Linked DNA regions of Homo sapiens: regions 2, 3 and 4 are each linked to region 1. Evidence: promoter capture Hi-C in human tissues and cell types (Jung and others, 2019). All regions are on one chromosome and are shown on one strand. The core of a region is centred on a gene start or on the middle of the fragment in contact, and the rest is flanking DNA. Distances in the headings are between cores, read along the strand shown.

Evidence for each region. The method cuts DNA at HindIII sites, captures the fragments that hold promoters and counts their contacts. A contact is called where the count stands out against the background at its distance.
Region 2: a contact is called between a fragment that was not itself captured here and the fragment with the promoter of CCL22 in region 1, in 1 of the 25 tissues and cell types used here (lymphoblastoid cells).
Region 3: a contact is called between the fragment with the promoter of CCDC102A here and the fragment with the promoter of CCL22 in region 1, in 1 of the 25 tissues and cell types used here (lymphoblastoid cells).
Region 4: a contact is called between a fragment that was not itself captured here and the fragment with the promoter of CCL22 in region 1, in 1 of the 25 tissues and cell types used here (aorta).

What each region holds. Positions count from the first base shown.
Region 1 is chr16:57,357,096-57,360,596 of GRCh38, forward strand. It overlaps CCL22 (C-C motif chemokine ligand 22), which reads left to right and starts at 1,688. Exons shown (of 3, transcript NM_002990.5): 1 at 1,688-1,794; 2 at 3,342-3,465. The coding sequence starts at 1,722. The HindIII fragment of the contact is 38,120 bases long and covers 1-3,501 here.
Region 2 is chr16:57,179,210-57,182,710 of GRCh38, forward strand. All of the region lies in intron 1 of PSME3IP1 (proteasome activator subunit 3 interacting protein 1), which reads right to left. Among named protein-coding and RNA genes, the nearest start is that of PSME3IP1, 5.1 kb to the right of the region's middle. The HindIII fragment of the contact is 3,333 bases long and covers 1-3,328 here.
Region 3 is chr16:57,534,667-57,538,167 of GRCh38, forward strand. CCDC102A (coiled-coil domain containing 102A) reads right to left here and starts at 1,905. Exons shown (of 9, transcript NM_033212.4): 1 at 1,834-1,905. It also overlaps a transcript of ADGRG5 not described here. RefSeq lists a silencer at 1,198-2,147. The HindIII fragment of the contact is 34,087 bases long and covers 1-3,501 here.
Region 4 is chr16:57,196,864-57,200,364 of GRCh38, forward strand. The region is part of intron 1 of RSPRY1 (ring finger and SPRY domain containing 1); the gene reads left to right. Among named protein-coding and RNA genes, the nearest start is that of RSPRY1, 12 kb to the left of the region's middle. The HindIII fragment of the contact is 3,972 bases long and covers 1-3,501 here.

The sequences.
Region 1 (3,501 bases), core at 438-2,937:
CTGGCGTAGCCTCTGTGTGGCTGTGTGAACTGGGCAAGTCCTCTCTCTCTGAACCTCAGTTTCCTCCTTCATTAGATGTGTTCTTTTTTTTCTTTCTTTCTTTCTTTTTTTTTTTTTTTTTTTTTTTGAGATGGACTCTCATTCTCTCACCCAGGCTAGAGTGCAGTGGCGCAATCTTGGCTCACTGCAACCTCTGCCTCTCACCGGATTCAAGCGATTCTCCTGCCTCTCAGCCCCCCAAGTAGCTGGGATTACAGGCGCATGCCATCACACCCGGCCAATTTTTGTATTTTTGGTAGAGATGGGGTTTCTCCATGTTGGCCAGGCTGGTCTTGAACTCCTGACCTCAGGTGATCCACCTGCCTGGGCCTTCCAAAGTGCTGGGATTACAGTCATGAATCACTGCACCCAGCCCATGTGTTCTGAGCACCCAACATGTGCCTGATCCTCAGAGGGCCCTGGGAATGCCAAGAAAAATGAAGGGAGACCCCAGCCTCCTAGAGCTTGGAGTCTGACTTCTAGGGAGGGGCTTGAGAAAGAGAAAACCTGACCCAGTCTGCTCAGGGCCACATTCCAGGTCCCCTAGAAGGCTTTGAAGTCCTGAGAGGGTGTGCTTACCAAGGACATGACATTTCAAACAGCTTTGACGCATAAGTAGGAGTTTATGTGGTAGAGATGTGGAAAGTGACATTAAAGGCCAGGGACAGGCCGCAGTCCCTTTTGAGGAAGTGTGAGGAGTGTGGTGTGATCCCTCAGGGGAAGGAGACCAGTGGGGAAAGGCCTGTCCGGAAACGGGGCCTTGAAGGCCACAGACAGGAGCCCGGGACCTGCCTTTAGGTGAATGGGGAGCCACGGCAGGGTTCTGAAGCAGGAGAGAGAGTGTGTAGCTCTGGACCACTCACGCTGGCTGCTGCAGGGTGGGGATGGCATTGAGGAGGCCAGCATCCCAGCCTGAGGTGGAGGTGGCCTGGACTGGGCAGGAACAGTGGGGTTGGAGAGAAGGAGCAGATCTGAGAGAGATTTAGGAAGCAGAATCAACGGGACATGGACATGGTGAGGGACTGAGACAGGAGTGGGGGAGGGAGAGCCCGGCAGCCACTGGGAAGGAAGATCAGGCAGGACAGAAGTGTGGGTAGATGCTTTCCATAAACCGTTGAGAAATCCACGACCTGGCCCAAATGTGGACTTCACGAGAAGCCCCAGATGGGTCAATGGGTCCATAGGCCTCTCCCATTGAAGAGAGACCAGTAATGCCGTCATTAAGGGTACAAGACAGGCCTCAATTCTAGGTGAGGGTTGGTCCACGTTCTCACTTGATTTACAACCAGTGAAGTCAACAGAGCTGTGAAACCATCTCCCCCATTTCCAGATGGGGAAACCAAGTCCCAGAGACACCCAGACATGGCCAAGGCCACACAGTGCAGAGACCCTGGGGAGCACAAGCCTCTAAGAGGGGGATTTTACAAGTCTGTCTGAAACCAGAGGCGAGGACAGAGTTGAGGGGGGGTCCCCTCTGAGTGGTTCCCCGCCAAAGAGAATTTCTCCACTTTGGAGGAAGTGGGAGGTAGTTCTTCTTTTGAGATGTGAATGTCAAGTGACTCTGGGCACCCCGGTGACTAAGAGGTAAGTAAGTGAGGCTTGTGGGTGGAGCCAGCACCTTAAATAGCAGGTCTTCCTATGTCCCTTTGCAGACACCTGGGCTGAGACATACAGGACAGAGCATGGATCGCCTACAGACTGCACTCCTGGTTGTCCTCGTCCTCCTTGCTGTGGCGCTTCAAGCAACTGAGGCAGGTGAGGCTGGGGAGCAGGAAGACCCCCTACAGAGGCCAGGGCAGACGGTGGGGTGTCTTCCTCATGTCTTGGACAAGCACTGGACCAAGAGCAGAAGACCTCAGTCTGCTGTTGGCTCTTGCGGCCTTCGGCTAGTTGCAGTGCTTCTCTGGGCCTCAGTTTACAAGTCTGTTGAATGGGCAGTCTTGAAGACTTGGAGTCTAGGATCTGTCTCACCTGGGTTGGGGGTTGTGGTGGGCATAGCCTCGGGATCTCCTGCCCCAGAAAACTCAAGCATAGGGCCCTAGGGGTGTGGGTGAGGAGCTTCTAAGGGTCAGGTCTGAGTGGGGGAAGGCAGGGCTGGGGCAAGGGGTTCTCCCTTGGAAAGCTGGTGCTGCCCTCCCACCATCCATTTTTTAAAATGTTATTATTATTATTTTTTATTTTATTTTATTTTATTTTTTGAGACACAGTTTCACTCTTGTTGCCCAGGATGGAGTGCAGTGGGGCAATCTTGGCCCACTGCAACCTCTACCTCCCAGGTTCAAGCGATTCTCCTGCCTCAGCCTCCTGAGTAGCTGGGATTACAGGCATGCACCACCACACCTGGCTAATTTTTGTATTTTTAGTGGAGACAGGGTTTCACCATGTTGGCCAGGCTGGTCTCAAACTCCTGACCTCAGATGATCCTCCCACCTCAGCCTCCCAAAGTGCTGGGATTACAGGCATGAGCCACTGCGTCTAGCCTAAATTTATTTTTTATTTCATTTTATTTATTTATTTTTTGAGATGGAGTCTCTGTTGCCCAGGCTGGAGTGCAGTGGCGCAATCTCAGCTCACTGCAACCTCCACCTCTGGAGTTAAAGTGATTCTCCTGCCTCAGCCTCCTGAGTAGCTGGGATTACAGGCACCTGCCACCATGCCCGGCTAATTTTTGTATTTTTAGTAAAGATGGGGTTTCACCATGCTGACCGGTCTTGTCTCGAACTCCTGACCTCAAGTGAAACTCCCATCTTGGCCTCCCTAAGTGTTAGGATTACAGGCGTGAGCCACTGCTCTGGGCTCACTATCCATTTTTGTCCAGAACCTGTCCTCAGCATGGATTCCTGACTCCTCTTCTCCACCCCACTCTATACTTTTGCTGTGTTGGGTGGAGGAGTGAGCACTGGAGTGGGGTCAGGCAGCTATAAACAAGAATTGCTCCCAGCTGCTGGGCTTTCTGAGTGCTTTTCATGCATTAAAGACCCTCTGAAGCTGGTACTGTTATTACCCCTTTGGTCAGAGGAGGAAATTGGGCCTCAGGCTACAGCTGATGCTTAGTTGTTCTGAATCCCCGCTCCTAGAGCTGACTGTCCCAGAGTGTAGACATTGGACCCTAAGTGGCTTCTCAGAAGCTCCAAGGGTAGGGTCTTGGAGGGCTCAGAATCCTCTGGTCACCATCCTTCCACATGAGAACAGAAAAACTGCATCTCTTTCCTGGAGCCTGGAGAGGCCGAGATCAGGGGCTGGGGCCGAGGGTGACCTCTCTGGGCTCCAGCTTGTGAATTCACTGGGGACCCCTCCCCTAGGCCCCTACGGCGCCAACATGGAAGACAGCGTCTGCTGCCGTGATTACGTCCGTTACCGTCTGCCCCTGCGCGTGGTGAAACACTTCTACTGGACCTCAGACTCCTGCCCGAGGCCTGGCGTGGTGTGAGTAGGGAGCTGGGGCCACAGGGCCTTGGTGGG
Region 2 (3,501 bases), core at 412-2,911, 180 kb before region 1:
AACATTACATTATTTTTTAAAGGATTTATTCAATTTCTTCAAATAGGGAATTCATGGAAAACTAAAACCATTTCAAAATTCACTTTGTCCACCAAACTTAGAGTCCAAATTGGCACAAATAAAGAACGTGGTTTTCAAATCTGCCTGACCGTCAAGAAAACAAAGTTCTTATATTTCAAGCCAAAGTAACTGGTAACACTGAACTACTGGGTTTACATTGGAGACCGTCCCATTTAATTTCCAGGGTGGTGGGACAAAATGGGCTCAGTTCTTACATAGCACACTACACATGTTTTAAAATACAAAACTTACATTGTTGCTCCCCAAATAATTGCTATTCCTAACTTGAAAAATGACTCCATTTAGCTAGTGCCATGACACAAAGTAATGAGATCTGGTTTCCTATGGAATTGAATTATGTGATGGCAAACTACTTGAGTGTTTACATCACTGGCCACCATATCCTTCTAATTCTAAAATTAATTAGATTGTACATGTTAAAACACACCAGAATCAGGTTTCTGTGTTCTGTTGTTTTAAGGCTTCACTTTCAGTAGCAAAAGCAATAGGTCAATCCATTTCCTTTTGTGAGTAAATATAGATTATTGCTTTCCAACATTTTTTACTCTGATGTTCAAGTCACACTGTACTTCAAAATGCAGGACAGCAACTAAGAGGAATTTGCCATCTGGCTAACTCATCTATATTTCAAATAAAGACTTATTTCTGGCCAGAAGGCACTTCTACCAAGATACAGTTATTTAGATTTTTAAAAATTTAGCTGACTTTTCCTATATCATAAAATTTATTTAGAGAACAACAACTACTAACAGAGAGCCCGCTGTTAGTATTTATTACTAGGCAAAGTGAAGTCAATCTTCTAACACCAAAGCTTAATTAACATATTCCGGTAGCAAAGGAGACTAAAAGAATCTAAAAACTAAACCACAGAAAAAGAAATTTAATCCATATTTTAAATGTTTATCATAAGGAGCAATTTGCAATAACCTTTCAGGCATCTATGAAACACATACAATAAAAAATTCAGCTTTGCAATAATCTTTCAGGCATCTATGAAACACATACAATAAGAAATTCAGCCAGGCATGGTGGCTCACACCTGTAATCCTAGCACTTTGGGAGGCTGAGGCAGGAGGATCGCTTGAGGTCAGGAGTTCAAGACCAGCCTGGCCAACAGGGTGAAACCCCATTTCTACTAAAAATACAAAAATTAGCTGGCTGTGGTGACATGTGCCTGTAATGCCAGCTACCTGGGAGGCTGAGGCAGGAGAATCGCTTGAACCCAGGAGGCGAAGGTTGCAGTGAACTGAGATTTCACGCCGCTGCACTCCAGCCTGGGCAATAGAGCAAGACTCCGTCTCAGAAAAAGAAAAAAAAAAAAGAAAAGAAATTAAGGCCTGGTGCACTAGCTCACACCTGCAATCTGAGCACTTTGGGAGGCCAAGGCAGGATTGTTTGAGCCCAGGAGTTCAAGACCTGCCTGGGCAAGATGGTGAGACCCCAACTCTATTAAAAACAAACAAACAAACAAACAGACAAACAGGCTAGGCACAGTGGCTCATGCCTGCAGTCCCAAAGCTGTGGGAGGCCAAGCTGGGAGCATCACTTAAGGCCAGGAATTTAAGACCAGCCTGGGCAACACAGTGAGACTCTCTCTCTACAAAAATATTTAAAAATTAGCCAGGTGTGATGGTGCACTACTTAGGAGGCTGAAGTGGGAGGAAGGCTTCAGCCAAGGAGTTCCAGGCTACAGTGAGCTATGAGGGCCATTGCACTACAGCCTGGGCAACAGCACAAGACCGACCTTGCCTGGCGAGGGGGAAAAAAAAGAAGTTAAAAAAAAAGTATTGATTTATTTATCTTTCCATAGCACAAGGGCAGGGTCTCAAATGTGCATTTATCTTGAATTCACCTATACACACTAGAAGAAAGATAACTAATTTAAATATCGGTTCCCTTAGCTGATCCTCATTCACATGCACCTCTCTGAATATAAATACTTCCCTCACTATGCATGAATGATTGTATTCATTGTATTTTTTACATATTGTGACTCCTAAATACAAACCAACAACTTCATCTGGGGCTCACAGGAAGAAAAACAGCAGTTTTTTCCAAAGCCGAAATAAAACTTGCCTGAGGATATAGAGAAAAAAAAAACCCAAACCAAACCAAAGCATTTTTGCTATTCTCTCACTCAACAATCAACACAGTATAATTCTGTGAGGGATATGTCCCCACACACCAAGCAACCAACCAATTCTGTAGCAGACACCAACCAGCTGGGTGTCCTCTAATTCAGTTCAATTCTGACACTACCTACCTGGATGGAGACCGCGTCAGATCCCATAGGTTGAGGGGTGAGTCCCACAAGACTAGCCTCCATTTTAGATACCAACCACAAGAATCAGGTTGTTTTACCTGTAGTTCTAACCAACTGGCTATTAATCAGGGTTCCCATGACCCCCTCCTTAGGTTCTATTAATTTGCTAGACCAATTCACAGAACTTAGAGGAACTTAGAGGAACACTTTACTTACATATACTGGTTTATTATAAAAGCATATTACAAAGGATACAGATGAAGCAATGCATAGGGCAAGGCATGTGGGAAGGGCACAGAGCTTCCATGCACTCTCTGGGGCACCATCATCCAGGAACCTCTCATGTCCACCTATCCAGAAGCTCCCCAATCCCAGTCTTTTGGATTTTTATGGAAGCTTCATTACTTAGACATGACTAATTAAACCAGTGACGCTGGTGGTCATCAGCTCGTCTGCCTTCTCCTCTCCCCAGAGGTTGGACATTGGTTGAAGGTCCCAACCCTCTAATCCTGCCTGGGTCTTTCAAGTGACCAGCCCCCATGCTAAAGTTACTTAGGGGCTGCCAGCCATCAGTCAGCTCCTTAGCATATAAAAAGACACTAATCATTTTGGAGATTTCAAGGATTATAGGAGTCATATGCCACAGGAGACAGGGATGAAGGCCAAATATGTATTTTACAATATCACACTGGCCATGTCAGAGTTCTGCAACACTGGTATTCCTACAATTAACATGCTGCCTCCCTGAGATTTCAAGGGTAGCTTTGCTTGTAAGCTATTTTGTCATCTAGGCTCGCTTCAGAACCTAACCCACACCTCAAGTCATACTCCATCCTCCCTCCCCCCACCCTATATAACTCCACTTCAAGACCAAATTAAAAACAAAATAAAACAAAAAAACGCAGTCCCAGTTACTCAGGAGGCTGAGACTGGAGGACTGCTTGAGCCTAGGAGTTCAAGGCCAGCCCGGGCAACATAAGGAGATACCCATTTCCCTTAAAAAAAAAAAAAAAAAAAAAAAAACTTTGCATTACAATAACCAGACAAGGCCAACTAAGATTTTTTTTTTTTTTTTTTTTGGCGCAGTGGCTCATGCCTGTAACCCTAGCACTCTGGGAGACTGAGGCAGGTGGATCACCTGAGGTCAGAAGTTCGAG
Region 3 (3,501 bases), core at 655-3,154, 180 kb after region 1:
GTACCCCTAAGAAGGTGGTACCACTCTTAGGGGTACCCTTGTGACCATGCAGAGTTTGGGAAGGTTGAGTCATCCTAAAGATCAGGAGTCAGTCGGTGGCCAGGCTCTGAGACAGGTAGGTATCTGAGCCTGTCTGGCCAGGGTTGGAATAAGAGGTCATCTCACGGCCAAGTCGGCTGTCCCACCTTTTACCTGGGGAAGCCTAATTGACCCACTGGGAACAGCGTTGTGTTTTGTCCTCAGCATGTTTGGATGGGTCTCTCCATATCAGTGAGAGGAATGAGCAATGCCAAGGCCTGGACAGGGGCCAGCTGAAGGGATGGGGAGCCCAGTGCCCCAACCCCTTCCCCGGCTCTGAAACCCTGTAGATCCTCCCAGAGCCTTTCAGGTAGGGCCCTGGGACAAGCCCATGGCCACAGGCCTGGCTGTGGACAGAAAGCAGAGCCCAGTGGGAAACCACAGAGGACAGCCTGATTGAATAAGTGCAGGGCCCAAGGCTGGTCAGCCCACAGACTGCGGGCACCTGTCCCTGTGACCTGCTGCCCAGGATCCAGCTGCAGGACCTCTGGGGGGAGCTGGCTGGCGGGAAAGGAAGGGATGGCGGCTAGGCCTCCAGGCTGGACCTAAGCCCAGGGGTAGGCACCCCTGGCCTATTCCCAGGTAGCCCCATCTTAGACTGAGGAGCCACAGAGACAGCCTGGATCATTGATTTGAACTCCTTTCTTTACATATGGACCAACTGAGGCCCAGAGGGACAGCTACGTGTCTGTGTCCACACCGCGGACCAGCAGCAAGGCCAGAGTAGGGAGCTGGTGATGGGATGCCTCCTCTTCTGGATCTTAGCCACCTGAGGGGCACAATGCCCCCGAGAGCACCTACACGATGGGGTCTGCAGGCACCAGGCCAAGTGGATACGCACAGCTGGAATGGTGGGGTGAACCTTCATGGGGACCCAGCCCCACCCCGACCCCAGCCCCACCCCTCTCGGCAACACCGTGAACTCTTCACTCTTGTACAGCAGACATCCCGCTAGTCCCAGCTCCATCACTGATATGCTGTGTGATATCTGCAAGTCCCTGCCCTCTCTGGGCCTCAGTTTCCTTACCTACAGGATGGGGAGAGGCACTAAAAAGATTCCTGAACGCTCTAACAGGTGGGCAGACCTCCCGAACCCAAACCAATCCAACCCCCACAAGAGCCCTGGGAGAGCGGGGGTGGGAAGGTGGACACCACCCCCACCTAAGGTACTGAAACTGAAGCCCCAGCCCTGCGTCGCCTTAGTCCTCACTTAGTCGACCCCTCCCAAGCCGCTGGCCCTGCGAACCGCCCCGCTCCACCTAGCGACGGGCGGAGGGTGGAGGGGGTTCCCGGCCCGCGCCGCGCGGTCCCGCCCACCCCACCGCATGGCCCCCATTGGCAGTCGCCGCGGCTCTGGGCAGGGCGCCGTGCTCTGATTGGCCAGCGCCGCCCGTCCATCCCGCATTCGCCATGGCGACCACGTTGGGTCCCCCGGGAGAGTCCCAAATTCCGTCCCCGCCCGCCGCCCCCTCCCGTCCGGCCCGGGCCGCGGCATTCCGGAGGCGCCTCCCCTCCCCCATCACCCCGCGGCCCCTCCCCACCGGAGACCTGGGGTTCCGGGGGCTGAGGGAGGCCGGGGAGGCGTCTAGAAAGTTCTGCTCTGAGTTCGGGGGTTGCCGCGGGCGCCCCGACTGTGTCTGCTCCTCCAGCACGCCCCACAACTTAACCCCTTCCTTCCCGCGGAAGGCGCGCGGCCTGGAGCAAGTTCCCGGGCCGCCTTGGCCTGCCGCCCCCCGGCCTGCCGCCCCCGCTCACCTCGGGCCGGGACTTGCGGGCTCCGTACGTCCCAGCCGCTGCGGCGGGGTAGAGCGGGCACCGTGCAGCTGCGACCGCCGCCGGAGGGGCCGAGGGAGGGCCGCGGAGTCTCCTCCTCCCTCCCGGGGGGAGGGGAAGCAGGGGGAGCGGCGGGGCCCCCGAAGCGGTCGCAGGCTGCGGCCCCGCTGTGACCCCGGCCCACCGAGCTGCTGGGGTGGGGGCTCCAGCCTAACTTCGGGGCGAGGGGTGCGGGCCGGGGCGGTGGGCTCTGCTGCAGAGCGGGCCGTACCCCAACGGAGGCCCCACCCCCGTGAGGGGCCGAGAGTTGCGGGGGGGCTCGGCTTTCTTGGTTCAGGTTTCCTCAGCGCCAACTACGTACTAGGCGCCCCCAGCAGAAACGGCCACCGCGGGTCCCAGCTCGGCACGTGGAGCGAGCTTACCAAGTCTTCACTGTTGTTACCTGCATTTTTCCCTGGGCCAGCTCTGCCACCGAGTGGAAGTGGGCCAACAAGTCTGTGCCCATCGGGCCTCAGTTTCTCTTTCTGTACAACAGAAGGGTTGACGAAAGCAACCTTGCGCTTGTTAAGAGGTGGGGGGCGCGGGGAGCACTCGGCCCGGCGGGCGGAGACTTTTCTCTGCATTGCGATGGTGGTTGGCAGGCCCTGGGGAATTACGGTACTTCGCCTTCGGGGACGCCCAGCTGTTTTGGGGCTTTCTCTCTATTGGGGGTAGGATGTTTGTGGTCTTGACTGGAAAGCCGGGACAGGCGTCTGGAGGACTCCCCACTACATCCTGTACCCTGGAAGGCCCCCGAGGTGAATCTATTTAAAAGAAGACCAACAATTCACCAAGATGGTGGGGAAAACCTGGCCTGATTGGGATTTTACCTAGAAAAAGAAGCTAAATATTACGAAGATAAATTAGTTTTACCCCGTGATTAACGGAGTTTAGATTATGATTGCAACCACGCACGCCTTAAAATGAACCAAGAATGAATCAGATGTTAACACTGGAAGTCTTGCTTTTTCTTGTAATAGTTGAGTATGTAGCATCCTTCCCTTCTGAACTGGTTTTTGCAGTAAGAGATTCATTTTTGCAAAAATATTTGAGAGCTTCCTCAAACTCAAGGATCACTCTGAATCCTTTGATAGTCCAGTGCCTTTTTTCGGGTCTGGGTCACTTCCCTTGCAGACGTTCCCTTTCTCTGTGGGCAGCGGCTGTTCCATTTCTCCTGCTTTGCTTCCACCAACTTCATGAAATCCCATACGTTGCAAGACTGGCAGTTTCACTTGTCGATTCATTTGCTTTGTATTTGTTATGCGTGGCTGAATGTTGAAAGCGTCTGTTCACCAGCCAGAGATAGATAGGAGATGTATGTGGGGTTTGAGTACTCAGAGGACAAGGGCATCCACATTTTACAGCTGAGGAAATGAAGGCTCAGAGAGGCTCTTGGCTCAGACTTGCACAAGGTCCTACAGCCAGTAACAGCCTTGGATCAAGAGCCCAGAGGTCTTGCCCAGAGTTTTTGGAGGTGGAAATGGGGCTGGGGAAGGTGGTGGAGACTGAGTTGATGGTGCACCTGAACTCCAGCTATAACCTCATCACTATCAGGCCTTCTCTCCTTAGGAAGAAGCAGTAAATATTGTCCTGAGGATGTCTTTTGCAGGG
Region 4 (3,501 bases), core at 691-3,190, 160 kb before region 1:
CCATGCGTATTACATGCATTATTTCATTTAATCCCCACAGTGGTACTGTGAGATAAGAACTGTTACTATGTCTGTTTTTTAACATGTGTCAAGAGTCAGGTTAATTAGGACGTGTATCAGTAAATATTGCAGGGCTGGGACTTTCACCTAGTCTGACAACAGAGTGTGTACTGTGCTATGGTGGCTTCTGGTATTGTGTGTAAAATCTGTAAGCTCAGTTTTATTGTCTTAAAGCAGTGGTCCTTGGAAAGTGGGCCACGTAAAGCTTTTTTTGAATGGATGAAACAAAAAATTGTCTAAAGTGTAATTGATTAGCTTTCACCCAGTCTTTTGCCTGCAGTCCATCACTTCTCTGTAAAAAAAAAATACCATGAATGACAGCCATTTCCAGTTTAAAACCTATAGGTTTTCAGTGCCAGATAAATCTGAAAGATCATCTACTTTGTTCATTTATGTGCCCTGTCTGTGGCTGTAGCCCTCAAGAGTACTCTGTGTAGTCATCTCAGAAAGTATTTAGAGGTAACAGCTCTTGATTTTTCCTTGTACGTTTCATAGGCTTGCCTTTATAAAATGCCTTCCAGCTTCTTCCACCTGATTAACCTCTTCTTTACACTTGGTTTTCACAGATGGTCCTTTTTATTTAAAAAAAAAAAGTCTGGCTTTAAAGTATTTACAGTTTTTTTAAAAGCCTCATTTTCTTCTCTGACAAATTTTATAGTTGACATTTTCTGGGTCATTTAAGGAAAATTGCTCTTTTGGAAGAAACTGACTCAAAACACACTTTAGTTCAATTTGGAAAAAAACTTAATTTTTGTCTTCTTACCTTCGTATTTAGTCAGTTTTTGTTTTTTGTTTTTGTTTTTGTTTTTGTTTTCCCAAAGACAGGGTCTAGCTCTGTCACATAGGCTGGAATGCAATGACACCATTAGGGCTCACTGCAGCCTCGACCTCCCAGGCTCAAGTGATCTTCCCACCTCAACCTCCTGAGTATCTGGGACCACAGGTGTGCACTACCATGCCCAGCTAATTTCTTAATTTTTTCTGTAGAAATGGGGTCTTGCTACATTACCCAAGCTGGTCTCAGCCTCCTGGGCTCAAGCAATCCTCCCAACTCAGCCTCCCAAAGTGCTGGGATTACAGGCATGAGCCACCATGCCCATCCTATCAGATTTAGTCAGATTTTAAAAAAAAATCTGCGTGTATTGGATATCATCCAATCACCTTAAAATTGTACTAAATGGGCCGGGCACGGTGGCTCACACCTGTAATCCCAGCATTTTGGGAGGCCGAGGCAGGCGGATCACGAGGTCAGGAGATCGAGACTATCCTGACTAACACAGTGAAACTCTGTCTCTACTAAAAATACAAAAATTAGCTGGGCGTGGTGGTGGGTGCCTGTAGTCCCAGCTACTCGGGAGGCTGAGGCAGGAGAATGGCATGAACCTGGGAGGCGGAGCTTGCAGTGAGCTGAGATCACGCCACTGCACTCCAGCCTGGGCGACAGAGCAAGACTCCGTCTCAAAAAAAAAAAATTGTACTAAATGGAAATCTGCATAGATTATTCTGTATTCAGTGTATAAAAACCTTAGGAAAAAATGATAAAGTTTAAGAATTTAAGATCCAACAAACCTCTTTTTAACTTCTTTCCTCACAGGCACCCCCAAGATGTTTTCTTCTTAATTATTCCTAAATACTTTTATGTGTTGGCATTAAATTGTAACTTTATAGGCTCCCCTATTCTTTTTGCTTTTTTTTCCCCCTGAAATTACTGAGCAACAAGATTCCTGTTCTCTCCCCTTCAAGGCTTTGTTTTCTGGAACTTGACATTCTCAAATCATTGCCAGTTATTTTTAGTACGTGATTAGTCTCCCTTCCTCAGGTATGTTTTCCCCAATTTGGATTGAATCTACTGTTTGCATCTTGTTTCCCATCCCACCTTCATACAGATTGTATGGAAAGGCTGTGGGGTATTAGAGCAGCCAGTGGAGTTCCCCTCTGCTGTGGCAATGTTGACACCACAGATCATAGTCCTAGGACCCTTACCACTGTGAGGAAGGAGTTTGGAGTTAGCACTTCCCCAGGGGATGACACATTTCCCCAGAAGAGGTCCCATGTCTCTAATCCTGGACTACTCCCTTCTACCATCCCCAAAGTGTTAGTTGGGTTAGCCACAAGTTTTTATAGCATAGTGGTCAAGAAATTATGATAATACAGAGTATGAATTTCTGTACAGCCTTTAAATGCATGAGGTAGTTACATATATACTGATATAGAAGGTTGTGGTATTAAAAAGAGCAAATCATAGAGCAATATTTATGGCTTCATTCTAGTTAGATTTAAAGAAAAAGCGGCTGGGCGCGGCGGTTGATGCCTGTAATCCCAGCACTTTGGTAGGCCGAGGCGGGCGGATCACGAAGTCAAGAGTTTGAGACCAGCCTGACCAACATGGTGAAGATCTGTCTCTACTAAAAATACAAAATTAGCCAGGCATGGTGGCGTGCGCCTGTAATCCCAGCTACTCAGGAGGCTGAGGCAGGAGAATCACTTGAACGTGGGAGGCAGAGGTTGCAGTGAGCCAAGATCGTACCATTGCACTCCAGCCTGGGTGACAGAGTGAGACTCCATCTCAAAAAAAAGAAAAAGCTAGTTTGAAAGTATATAATAATAGATATGGAGGCAAACATATGAAGCTTTTAAGAGGTTAGTTATCTCTGGGAAAGGCATGGGCTAGGTAGAGCAGAAGAGGAACTTTCACATTCCATAGGCCTGTGCAGCATTTAGGTTTTAGAAATGAATGTGTATATTTTAAGGTTTCTAGATAAAGATTTTTTTTTAATAAAATACAATTTCAAGTAAATATTCCAGTGGCACAATCATCTGACCTACTGGCCCAGAGCCAGACCTGTCCAAAAACCTTGAATTGTTTACCTCTTTTCACCTGAAATATTCTAACAGCGCCTTATCAGTGAAATTTCTTTTTTTTTTTTTTCCCACTCCAAACCTCAGTTTACTCATTTTGTTTTTTTTGTTTGTTTTTTTTTTTCTTTTTCTTTTTTTTTTTTTTTATTGATCATTCTTGGGTGTTTCTCGCAGAGGGGGATTTGGCAGGGTCACAGGACAATAGTGGAGGGAAGGTCAGCAGATAAGTGAACAAAGGTCTCTGGTTTTCCTAGGCAGAGGACCCTGCGGCCTTCCACAGTGTTTGTGTCCCTGGGTACTTGAGATTAGGGAGTGGTGATGACTCTTAACGAGCATGCTGCCTTCAAGCATCTGTTTAACAAAGCACATCTTGCACCACCCTTAATCCATTCAACCCTGAGTGGACACAGCACATGTTTCAGAGAGCACAGGGTTGGGGGTAAGGTCACAGATCAACAGGATCCCAAGGCAGAAGAATTTTTCTTAGTACAGAACAAAATGAAAAGTCTCCCATGTCTACCTCTTTCTACACAGACATGGCAACCATCCGATTTCTCAATCTTTTCCCCACCTTTCCCCCCT